Linked DNA regions of Homo sapiens: region 2 is linked to region 1. The links are contacts of gene promoters, found by promoter capture Hi-C in human tissues and cell types (Jung and others, 2019). All regions are on one chromosome and are shown on one strand. Each heading gives the region's core, a stretch centred on a gene start or on the middle of the fragment in contact. The rest is flanking DNA. Distances are from core to core; before and after follow the strand shown.

Evidence for each region. The method cuts DNA at HindIII sites, captures the fragments that hold promoters and counts their contacts. A contact is called where the count stands out against the background at its distance.
Region 2: a contact is called between a fragment that was not itself captured here and the fragment with the promoter of TJP3 in region 1, in 1 of the 25 tissues and cell types used here (dorsolateral prefrontal cortex).

The regions. Positions count from the first base shown.
Region 1 is chr19:3,706,156-3,712,117 of GRCh38, reverse strand. TJP3 (tight junction protein 3) reads right to left here and starts at 3,734. Exons shown (of 21, transcript NM_001267560.2): 1 at 3,557-3,734. RefSeq lists enhancers at 1,583-2,128, 2,964-3,625, 3,626-4,289. The HindIII fragment of the contact is 5,666 bases long and covers 2,747-5,962 here.
Region 2 is chr19:3,978,302-3,984,000 of GRCh38, reverse strand. It overlaps EEF2 (eukaryotic translation elongation factor 2), which reads left to right. Exons shown (of 15, transcript NM_001961.4): 3 at 710-891; 4 at 983-1,194; 5 at 1,577-1,755; 6 at 1,949-2,054; 7 at 2,549-2,662; 8 at 3,022-3,160; 9 at 3,292-3,487; 10 at 3,935-4,193; 11 at 4,565-4,672. It overlaps SNORD37 (small nucleolar RNA, C/D box 37), which reads left to right and starts at 1,429; the gene lies at 1,429-1,494. RefSeq lists an enhancer at 1,677-2,528. The HindIII fragment of the contact is 5,039 bases long and covers 1,267-5,699 here.

The DNA of each region.
Region 1 (5,962 bases), core at 2,485-4,984:
TCTCAAACTCCTGGGCTCAAGTGACCCACCTGCCTTGGCCTCCCAAAATGCTGGGATTACAGGCGTGAGCCACCGTGTCTGGTCCAGAGGAGAACTGAAAGAACACACACACACAGGCAATCAAGAATGCTGAGGCCGGGTCGGTGGCTCTCGCTTGAAATCCCAGCACTTTGAGTGGCTGAGGCTGGCAGATCACTTGAGCCCAGAAGCTCGAGACCAGGCCGGCCAACACAGCAAAACCCCATTTCTATTTTCAATTTTTAAAAAAAAGAAAGAAAGGAAACAAATTAATTCCCCTCTGTATAGGCTATAAAGTCTTACCGGTTCCCATATTAATTAATGAATTAAGCAGACACATAAAGCACCTTTTTTTTTTTTTTTGTACTTTTAGTAGAGACAGGGTTTCACCATGTTAGCCAGGCTGGTCTTGAACTCCTGACCTCGTGATCCACCCGTCTCGGCCTCCCAAAGTGCTGGGATTACAGGCGTGAGCCACCGCATCCGGCCTCATTTTGTATTTGTATGAGAGTAATGATTTTACTATTTTGGGAAAAAATATCCTTTAATATCATAAAGCCAAATGTCTTCAGGCCAGCATTTAAAGCTCTCCCTTCATTTTGGCCGGACGCGGTGGCTCACGCCTGTAATCCCAGCACTTTGGGAGGCCGAGGCGAGCGAATCACCTGAGATCAGGAGTTCGAGACCAGCCTGACCAATACGGTGAAACCCTGTCTCTACTAAAAATACAAAAATTAGCTGGGCGTGGTGGTGGGCGCCTGTAATCCCAGCTACTTGGGAGGCTGAGACAGGAGAATCGCTTTGAACCCAGGAGGTGGAGGTTGCAGCGAGCGGAGATCGTTCCACTGCACTCCAGCCTGGGCAACAGAGCGAGACTCCATCTCAAAAAAAAATAAAATAAGGCCGGGCATGGTGGCTCACGCCTGTAATCCCAGCACTTTGGGAGGCTGAGGTGGGCGGATCACAAGGTCAGGAGAGACCATCTTGGCTACCACGGTGAAACCCCGTCTGTACTAAAAATACAAAAAATTAGCCGGGTGTGGTGGCGGGCGCCTGTAGTCCCAGCTACTCGGGAGGCTGAGGCAGGAGTATGGCGTGAACCCGGGAGGCGGAGCTTGCAGTGAGCCGAGATCGCGCCACCGCACTCCAGCCTGGGCGACAGAGCGAGACTCCGTTTCAAAAAAATATAAAAAGTAAAATAAAGTTACAAAGCGCCTCTCACGCATGTTACCCTCTGTGCAGCCATTGGCTCCATTACTGCGCTCTTGTTTCATGTCTGTCTTTCCCCACCAAAATATGCGCCCCACGAGAGCAGGAAGCTTGGCCTGCCTTGCTCACTGCTGAATCTCCAAGGCCTGGTGACCCCACACTCGCGCATACAGTAAGTGCACAATAAATGCCCGTTCGCTCCCTGGGCGACCCCTCCCCCCAGCCTAGGCTTCCGCTAACCTCAATCCATTCCAAAGGGTGTCAGGTTCCACCCTGAGCAAACACAGCTCCCCTGGCCCCTGGCCAGCCCTAAAGAGGAAGAACAAGTACCCATACTCCCTGCCCTGGACTTTCCCCGGGACTCAGGGCCACGAGGAAGCACCAAGCCAGGGGGCAGGACTTTCTCGAGATGCTGAGCCTGAGGCATCAGCTGGGGGCAGGGCCAGCCTCCAGAGCACCACCCCCGCCACCAGCTCCCTGTCCTCTGCGTCTTGACTCTTGGCCGCCTGACATTTCTACTTGGCTGTGCGGCCCGGGGTAAGCGGCTGTCCTTCTCTGAGCCAGGGTTCATCCTCTACAAACCAGGAAGCTGATGAGACCAGACTCCGATTCGGACCGGGATAGCTCGTCTTGACCCCAGAATGACCGAGAATCTGTTACCCGCTTTATTACATCCGGCACTCAACAGCCCTGTGCCTTGGTGACTCCATATCCCCCCACCCCTTTTTTTTTTTTTTTTTTTGAGACAGAGTCTCACTCTGTTGTCCAGGCTGGAGTGCAGTGGCACAATCTCGGCTCACTGCAACCTCCACCTCCTGGGTTCAAGCAATTCTCCTGCCTCAGCCTCCGGAGTAGCTGGGATTACAAGTGCTTGCCACCATATTCGGCTCATTTTTTGTATTTTTAGTAGAGACAGGGTTCCACCATGTTGGCCAGGCTGGTCTCGAACTCCTGACCTTGTGATCCACTCGCCTCGACCTCCCAAAGTGCTGGGATTACAGGCGTGAGCCACCGCGCCCGGCCCTCAATATCCCCATTTTACAGAGCAGGAAACAGAGGCCCGGAGAGAAGGGAGGTGTGGAAGCCAGATCTAACTGAGTCCACGGGTTTGCTCTCAAAACCCAGGCAAGGTGGGATCCATGTCGCCCACCCCCACGGACTCCCGAATCTCAAGCAAGCCTGCTCCCTGGGAGCTCTGCAGCCACACAGCCACAAGGTGACCCCAAATGCCGGGCCGCTCTGTCCCCCACTATGCGATCATCCATGCCTCCTCGGCCCCGGGGGACCCTCTTGGTTCTGGAGAGAGACTTGAGATGCAATCGGACACTTGGCTCACGAGGAAGCTCCCTTGGTCTTCCCATTTGGGAGCAAATGACCCAGAAAAACACTTTTGCTGCCGACCCCTCCCCTCTCTGGCTCTGAGCGCTCCTTCCTCCTTCCCCTCTGCCCCATCCCACAGAGATTTTGCTCGGAGGAGTAAAGATTAGAAAAAGAAGTCTGGGCGCAGTGGCTTGCGCCTGTAATCCCAGCACTTTGGGAGGCCGAGGGGGTTGGATCACCTGAGGTCAGGAGTTCGAGACCAGCCTGGCCAACATGGTGAAACCCCATCTCTACTAAAAATACAAAAATTAGCTGGGCATAGTGGTGGGCGCTTGTAATCCCAGCTACTCGGGAGGCAGAGGTGGAGGCAGAGGTTGCAGTGAGCCAAGATCGCACCACTGCACTCCAGCCTGGGCAACAAGAGCAAAACTCCGTCTCAAAAAAAAAATTAGCAAAAGAAAGGCCACCCCAATCCCTCCCTGCAAAGCTCCTGGAGGTTCCAGCGGTGAGAACAGGGTGAGGGGTTGGGGGGCGGGAGACGCAGTTGTTTCAAAACTTGGGAGCCTTTTAAGAAGTTCCAGGAGGCTCAGAGATGAGTGAGGTCGCAGCCTTTCCCACCTGTCACCTCCTAGCCTCGGGCTGCAGGAGGTAAACCCAGGCTCCGTCTGGACTGATATCCCCTCCCCTCCTCAGTTAGGGGGATCAGAGACCAACCTGTGCCCCTTTGCCGCCTCCCCGGTCCCTGCGCCACCTAGGTAACAATGACCCTTTTAAGTTTCCAGCTCAGCGTCCTGGGCAGGCCGCCAGGTGCAGTAACTGCCGGTCAGATAATCCCTACGAAACTATGTCAGATGCCCACGCAGGAGTGTCAGTTTCCTGCTTTCCGAGGAGCCGGGGAGACAGCTCGTGGTGGGGGAGGTTGGGGGGGAGTCTAAGGACCCTCAGCTGGGGAAGGCCAGCTCAGACAATGCACACTGGGTGGAAAAGCACAGTGGGGCGGGGGACTTACCTGTCTAGGAGGCTGGGTGGCCTCTGGGCAGGCAGCAGGTGCCAGGGCCCGGGTGCCTGCCTGGCACGGGTGGTGGGGAGGGAACCCGAGGCTTGTAGCTCTGGCCTCCCCACCTGTTTGACCAACTTTTCCTCTCTTGTGGTGGCAACAGGGAGGCAGGTCCCCTGCCAGTGGAACTGACGACCACAGACACAGGGAGACGGACCAGGGTGAGGGGCGGGCCAGCAGGAGGACTGGGTGTGTGGCTCTGTCGCAAGGTGCCCTCACGTGGGAGCAACTGGCCTTAACCCCTGCTTGCCCAGAGGTGAGCTTGCTCCTGCCTGTGCCCTCACCGCCGAGGCCCTGGTATCAAGCGTCCGCACATGGTAGGTGCTTAGGAAACCCTCGTTGGCTACATTCAGACATGAATGGACCGCACTCCCGGAGTCCCCCTCCCTCCTGCTTCTTGCATCTGGAGCTGCCCAGTCTCTGTGCTTGCTGAGCCTCCTGCCAGGCACGCCGGCCCATCAGGCTGTGGCTTGGCGCACTCCCTTCCCCACGCAGATCTGTGCGCAGTCTGCCTCTCTGCTACGAAGTGACTGGGTTCCTACGTACAGAAGCTTCTGCCACTTCCCCGCTGTGTGGCTTTGGGCAAATTACAGGGGCTTCTTGCTGTCCTCATCTAAAAAACAAGAAAGGGTCAGGTGTGGTGGCTCACACCTGTAATTCCAGCACTTTGGGAGGCCGAGGTGGGAGGATCACTTGAGCCTGGGAATTTGAGACCAGCCTGGGTAACACGGTGAAACCCATCTCTAGAAAAATTTTTATATATCTTTTGTTTGTTGTTTGTTTTGAGATGGAGTCTCCCTCTGTCACCCAGGCTGGAGTGCAGTGGCGCGATCTCGGCTCACTGCAACCTCCGCCTCCTGGGTTCAAGTGATTCTTCTGCCTCAGCCTCCCAAGTAGCTGGGATTACAGGCGTGCACCACCACGCCCAGCTAATTTTTTTTTTTTTTTTCAGTAGAGACGGGGTTTTCCTATGTTGGCCAGGCTGGTCTCAAACTCCTGACCTCAAGTGATCTGCCCGCCTCGGCCTCCCAAAGTGTTGGGATTACAGGCGTGAGCCACCGAGCCTGGCCTAGAAAAGTTTTTTTGTTGTTGCTGCTGGCTGTTGTTGGTTTTGTTTTGTTTTTTGTTTTTATTTTATTTTTTTTTTATTTTTTTGAGACAGAGTCTTGCTATGTTGCCCAGGCTGGAGTGCAATGGCTTGATCTCGGCCCACTGCAACCTTTGCCTCCCGGTTTCAAGTGATTCTCCTGCCTCAGCCTCCCGAGTAGCTGGGATTGCATTACAGGCACCAGCCATCATGCCCAGCTAATTTTTGTATTTTTGTAGAGACGGAGTTTCACCATATTGGCCAAGCTGGTCTTGAACTCCTGGCCTCAGGTGATCCGCCTGCCTTGGCCTCTCAAAGTGCTGAGATTACAGGCGTGAGCCACCACGCCCAGCCCAGAAAACTTTTTTAAAAATTAGCCAGATGTGGTGGTACACACCTGTAGTCCCAGAAACTCAGGAGGCTGAGGTGGGAGGATCAATTGACCCTGGGAGGTTGAGGCTGCAGAGAGCTATGACTGTGCCACTGCACTCCAACCTGGGTGACAGAGCAAGATCCTATCTCAATAAAATAAAATTAACCAGGAAGGGTTGGGCATGATGGCTCACACCTATAATCTCAGTACTTTGGAGGCCAAGGTGGCAGGATCACTTGAGGCCAGGAATTCGAGACCAGTCTGGGCAACATAGTGAGACACCCCCCCATCTTTACCAGTACATTAAAATTAAAATTTAAAAAATTAAGTCTGGGCTCAATGGCTCACCCCTGTAATCCCAGCACTTTGGGAGGTTGAGGTGGGAGAATTGCTTGAGTTAGGAGTTCGAGACCAGCCTGGCCAACATGGTGAAACCCCATCTCTACTAAAAATACAAAAATTAGCCGGGCAAGGTGGCATGCGTCTGTAATCCCAGCTACTCAGGAGGCTGAGACGGGAGAATCGCTTGAGCCCCAGAGGCAGAGGTTGCAGTGAGCCGAGATCGCGCCACTGCACTCCAGCTTGGGAGACAGAGCAAGACGCTGGCTGAAAAATAAATAAATAAATATTAAAATGCCACCTCACAGAGGTCATGGACTTTGTCGTGCTCATCCCTGCCGTGTCCTATGGCCTAGCACAGTGCCTGGTACACAGTAGGTGCTCAATACATGTTTTTGGAATGAATGGACTAGGGTCCCTCCAGCCTGCAGTACCTCCTGCTGACGGTAGTAGCCACTATGGCCACCAGGCGGCGCCAGAAACCACGCAACCGGCCCCCGCCGGGCAGCCTCGGTTTTCCACCCTGCGTAATGGGGACAGCCAACCAGGGGCGTGGGGG
Region 2 (5,699 bases), core at 2,537-5,036, 270 kb before region 1:
GAGGTTCAGTCCAGCGAGACAGGATGGAGAGGCACAGGGATTCGGGGTACTGCGAGCTGGAAGGTTTTCTTGAGGAGGGGGCTTAACTCCGTGGTTCTCCCTCCCTGGGGGACTTGCCCCCACTCCTACAATATCTGGAGAGGTTTGGCTGTCACACCTGGGAGGGGAGGGTGTTCTAGTGCTTGGGACGCTGGGAAGCTCCTGTGTTGCACTGGATGATGTTCATTCCATGTCAGTTTCTGGCCCCGATATGAGTAGGGGGAGCGCAGAGTACGGTGACCCCAACTGCTTTTTGTCCTGGGTTGGTACATTGGTGAGGGACTCTGGCTAAGGCTCTTCATTTCCCCTGGAGCAGGGGCAGAAGTGAGGAGGGGAGGGTCGGAGTCTCTGGAGGCTTTTGCCGTCCTGCTGGGTCTTTTAGTTGCTACTTTGAGTCAGGTGTGATGAATCTTGGGACCAAGTCGGTGGGGCAGGATGTCTGGTCAGGAGGGCTCTGAGGATCTGGCTATGGGGCTGGTACCAGGAGTTCCCTGTCATGGGGGTGGCATGTCTCGGACAGAGGCAAAGGACAAGGGTGGGTTGGCTCTTGTGGGAGCCTCTCCAGGGATGAGTCATGGAGGGAGGAGCAGCCTGGCTTCTGACAGCATCCCAGACTCCCTGGGCCAGGTGTGTGGCTCCTGTCCCCCTGACGAGTCCCTCCCTCCATCAGTGCCATCTCCCTCTTCTACGAGCTCTCGGAGAATGACTTGAACTTCATCAAGCAGAGCAAGGACGGTGCCGGCTTCCTCATCAACCTCATTGACTCCCCCGGGCATGTCGACTTCTCCTCGGAGGTGACTGCTGCCCTCCGAGTCACCGATGGCGCATTGGTGGTGGTGGACTGCGTGTCAGGTAAGCAGTGGGTCCCCCTGAGGCACGGCCTGGAACCGGGGGCCATCCTTGCTTGAGGATGACAGCGCCGCCCTGTCCCCCGTGTCCCCAGGCGTGTGCGTGCAGACGGAGACAGTGCTGCGGCAGGCCATTGCCGAGCGCATCAAGCCTGTGCTGATGATGAACAAGATGGACCGCGCCCTGCTGGAGCTGCAGCTGGAGCCCGAGGAGCTCTACCAGACTTTCCAGCGCATCGTGGAGAACGTGAACGTCATCATCTCCACCTACGGCGAGGGCGAGAGCGGCCCCATGGGCAACATCATGGTACGGCCCTCCCTAGCTGGGTGGTGGGCTTGCCGCAGCGGGATCTGCAGGAGCCGGTGGGGAGTGGAGTTGAGCTGAGGGGGACTGGAAGTGTGTTTTTGCCAGGAATGTTGGGTGACAGAGAAGGGGGCTGGAATGTTTTCATCCGACTTGACCCAGCCCTTGATCTTTGGGCAGCTGGAAGAGACGAGCTCAGGGAACGCTGCCCTGGGTGGTGGAGGGGCTGGCCCCCCTATTCGTGATGACTGATCATTTCTTCACTTTGACCAGATGTCTACTGAAGAAAGCCTGCGTCTGAGGCCCATGCCCAAGGCGCCCAGCCCGTAGCTTCAGGCTCTGCGCAGGGGCCCTCACGGCTGCTTCTCGTTTCTCACACTTCCAGATCGATCCTGTCCTCGGTACCGTGGGCTTTGGGTCTGGCCTCCACGGGTGGGCCTTCACCCTGAAGCAGTTTGCCGAGATGTATGTGGCCAAGTTCGCCGCCAAGGGGGAGGGCCAGTTGGGGCCTGCCGAGCGGGCCAAGAAAGTAGAGGACATGATGAAGAAGCTGTGGGGTGACAGGTGAGCCCCGCGGGATATGGTGGGGGATTCCTGACACCTGGGGGTAGTGGCAGCGACGTAGGGGCGTGGTGTGCTATTCACAGCGTGGCTCAAGCCCACCAGGTCTTGCCCAAGCATGTCCCCTTGGCGACCACCCTCCCCAAGTCATCCCCTGGAGACCCTAACTTGATTTGGCTTGGCCTCTCCTTGCCAGGTACTTTGACCCAGCCAACGGCAAGTTCAGCAAGTCAGCCACCAGCCCCGAAGGGAAGAAGCTGCCACGCACCTTCTGCCAGCTGATCCTGGACCCCATCTTCAAGGTGAGTGAGGGCTGCGCCAGGCACCCCGCCGATGCGACTATTGGCCCTCGGCCCTGTGGGCTCCGGCCGGTAGCCTGTCGGCTGACTGGGCCCGTCTCCTTGTGGGGCAGATGCGAGATGGGAGGAGGCACAGCTCCTAACTGAGGTGGAGTCAGGGCTCCTCTCTTAAGATCTGGACTGCATAGCCAGAGCCTTGGGACCTCTCCTGCATTGAGGGGGTTGAATAACTTGTGGCTTTGGCGGTTCAGTGCTTGTAAGTCAGAACTTGGGTCCTTGTCTGAGTCAGAGTGGGCTTTTTCCTCTGCTCCACCACGAGGTTTCCTCCAGCTCCCGATCCGCTCAGCTGGCTGGGCCCGTGGTAGGCAGGCCAGGCCTGCTCCTGCTCCCGTGCTGCGTCCCCCTGCGCTGACCTGAGTCTTCCAAGCAGGAAGCAGTGCCAGGCTTCCTCCTGCTGTTCCCAAATGGGCTTTCTTGTTTCTTGGTGGGGAATGTAGGTGTTTGATGCGATCATGAATTTCAAGAAAGAGGAGACAGCAAAACTGATAGAGAAACTGGACATCAAACTGGACAGCGAGGACAAGGACAAAGAAGGCAAACCCCTGCTGAAGGTGCGGCCTGGGCCCAGCCCTCGGGGTGGAGGGAACACAGGCTGCTGTTTCCGGATGCTCTGACAGCCCAGGCCTGGGGGCTGAAGTCCTCAGCTGGGCAGGGACAGCTGCTGCCCCTTTCGCTTTAGACTCTGGGTGCTGCTGGAGACACATCCCAGCAGCCAGCCCCATCCGGGACAGGTGTGGGTGAGGGCCTTGGCAGGAGTGTGCATGGCCTTTGCCGCCTTCCAGAAGGGACTGTGCTTTGGAGAACGTTAGTCCTGACTTTGGCTTCCTTGGCTTCAAGAGAGGAAGCGTGTACGGGGTGGGGCCATCCTGGGCTCCCCAGGTGTCTCATGCACCGCTCTCTGCCCCCGCAGGCTGTGATGCGCCGCTGGCTGCCTGCCGGAGACGCCTTGTTGCAGATGATCACCATCCACCTGCCCTCCCCTGTGACGGCCCAGAAGTACCGCTGCGAGCTCCTGTACGAGGGGCCCCCGGACGACGAGGCTGCCATGGGTACGTGGTCCCGGTGGCCGGGCCCTGAGATGCAGCCGGATGACTTCCTGTTGCCCAAGGTTGTGGGTTGCAGGGTTCCAGAAGGCTGAGCTGCACTGGAATAAAGCTTGCGGGTTTTCTCTGTCCCTCAGGCATTAAAAGCTGTGACCCCAAAGGCCCTCTTATGATGTATATTTCCAAAATGGTGCCAACCTCCGACAAAGGTCGGTTCTACGCCTTTGGACGAGTCTTCTCGGGGCTGGTCTCCACTGGCCTGAAGGTCAGGATCATGGGGCCCAACTATACCCCTGGGAAGAAGGAGGACCTCTACCTGAAGCCAATCCAGAGGTGAGCAGCTGGGTGATGTGCAGGCCCCTTGGCACTGTTGCGGGCCCTGCCCTGCTCCAAGTCTTGGGCTCCTCAGTCGGGAGCTAGAAGTAAGGAGCATAGAAGGAATATAGGGTGATACTTGTGCCAGCCACAACTTTTGTTCTTAGCCCAGTGAGGGCATTTCTGGAGAAGCTCCAAGCCCCAGGGCACAGCACACCCCTGCTCATCTGTGTCCCTGGGCACAGGTGGGTGGCGGCCGTCGACCCATACCCAGGGAGGAGGGCAGTGATTCTGAAGAGGATGTTTCCTGACAGCCCCGACGCAGCAGTCAGGGCCTTGTGGAAGCCACCAGTCTGCCCTGGGACCTGGCAGGAGGGCCACCAACTCCGGGAGGGACCTGCCCTGGCCCTCCAGGGTCCAGCACAACCATCCCTGCGGCCTGCTGCCGCCTTCTGCTTCTTCCAGAACAATCTTGATGATGGGCCGCTACGTGGAGCCCATCGAGGATGTGCCTTGTGGGAACATTGTGGGCCTCGTGGGCGTGGACCAGTTCCTGGTGAAGACGGGCACCATCACCACCTTCGAGCACGCGCACAACATGCGGGTGATGAAGTTCAGCGTCAGCCCTGTTGTCAGAGTGGCCGTGGAGGCCAAGAACCCGGCTGACCTGCCCAAGCTGGTGGAGGGGCTGAAGCGGCTGGCCAAGTCCGACCCCATGGTGCAGGTGGGCACGGAGTGCACCTGCTGGGAGCAGACACCCTGAGGGGGGACGGCTTGTGTCCTGAGTTGTGGCTGTGTGGGTTGCTGTGGTTGGTGGATTGGGGTGACTGGTCATGAAAGGAGGGGTTCTTGGCTGTGGCTGTAAATGGAGACTCCTGCCCAGGCAGCCACCACCCTCTCCTAGGCTGCTCTGCGCGTGTTCACTGTAGCTTGTGGGACTTAACATTTCTTCAGGAGTTTGTGCTGGTCCCAGTTTCCCAGCACCTTCCCTGAAATCTTGTTCTGGCGGGGTCCCTAGCTAAAGGGAAGCTGGGAGCCTGGTCCCGCCTGTTCCGAGCCGCCTACCCCTTTGGTGCTGACCCGCATCCCTTTCAGTGCATCATCGAGGAGTCGGGAGAGCATATCATCGCGGGCGCCGGCGAGCTGCACCTGGAGATCTGCCTGAAGGACCTGGAGGAGGACCACGCCTGCATCCCCATCAAGGTGAGGCGCCAGTGACCAGCCTTCCCCACGCCCCACCCCGGACACCTGCCCTCTGCTTTAAAGCTGAGCTGAGCTAGGCTCTGCAGACGCCTAGACTTGATCTCGGTCTTGGTCTCAGCTTCTTAAGTTCCTCAAGTTTCTTCTTTGCAGTCTTCCACAGGCATGTGGGGCTGTTTTTGTTGTTGTTGTTGTTTTTTTTGAGATAGTCTCGCTGTGTCATCCAGGCTGGAGTGCAGTGGCGTGATCTTGGCTCGCTAGAACCTCCACCTCCCGGGTTCAAGCGATTCTCTTGCCTCACTCAGCTTCCTGAGTAACTGGGACTACAGGCGCGTGCTACCACGCCCGGCTAATTTTTTTTTGTATTTTTAGTAGAGGCGGGGTTTCACTGTGTTAGTAAGTCAAGATGGTCTCGATCTCCTGACCTCGTGATCCCCCTGCCTCGGCCTCCCAAAGTGCTGGGATTACAGGTGTGAGCCACCATGCCTGGCCCAGGGCTATTTTTTTTTTTTTTTTTTTTTTTTTTTTGAGACAAGAGTCTTGCTCTGTTGCTTAGGCTGGAGTGCAATGGCGTGATCTTGGCTCACTGCAAGCTCTGCTTCCCAGGTTCACGCCATTCTCCTGCCTCAGCCTCCTGTAGCTGGGACTTCAGGCGCCTGCCATCATGCCCGGCTAATTTTTTGCATTTTTAGTAGAGACGGGGTTTCACCGTGTTAGCCAGGATGGTCTGGATCTCCTGACCTCGTGATCCACCCGCCTCGGCCTCCCAAAGTGCTGGGATTACAGGCGTGAGCCACCACGCCCGGCCTCCGGGGCAGTTTTTGAGTTACATCCTGCTGTCTTCTGTCCACAAACAACACAAATGCTCTGGAGGGGTTGGGACAGGCCTGCTCCAGACCTCGTTTCTTCCCTGTTAATGCTTAAAATTCCACAAGCCCGTGGTTTCTGCGCCGGAGAGCTCAGTGGAGCCCCTGCTCCTTGTCCTTGTCTGGAGTGAGATGCGCTTGGCACTGCAACACTGACTCCGCTT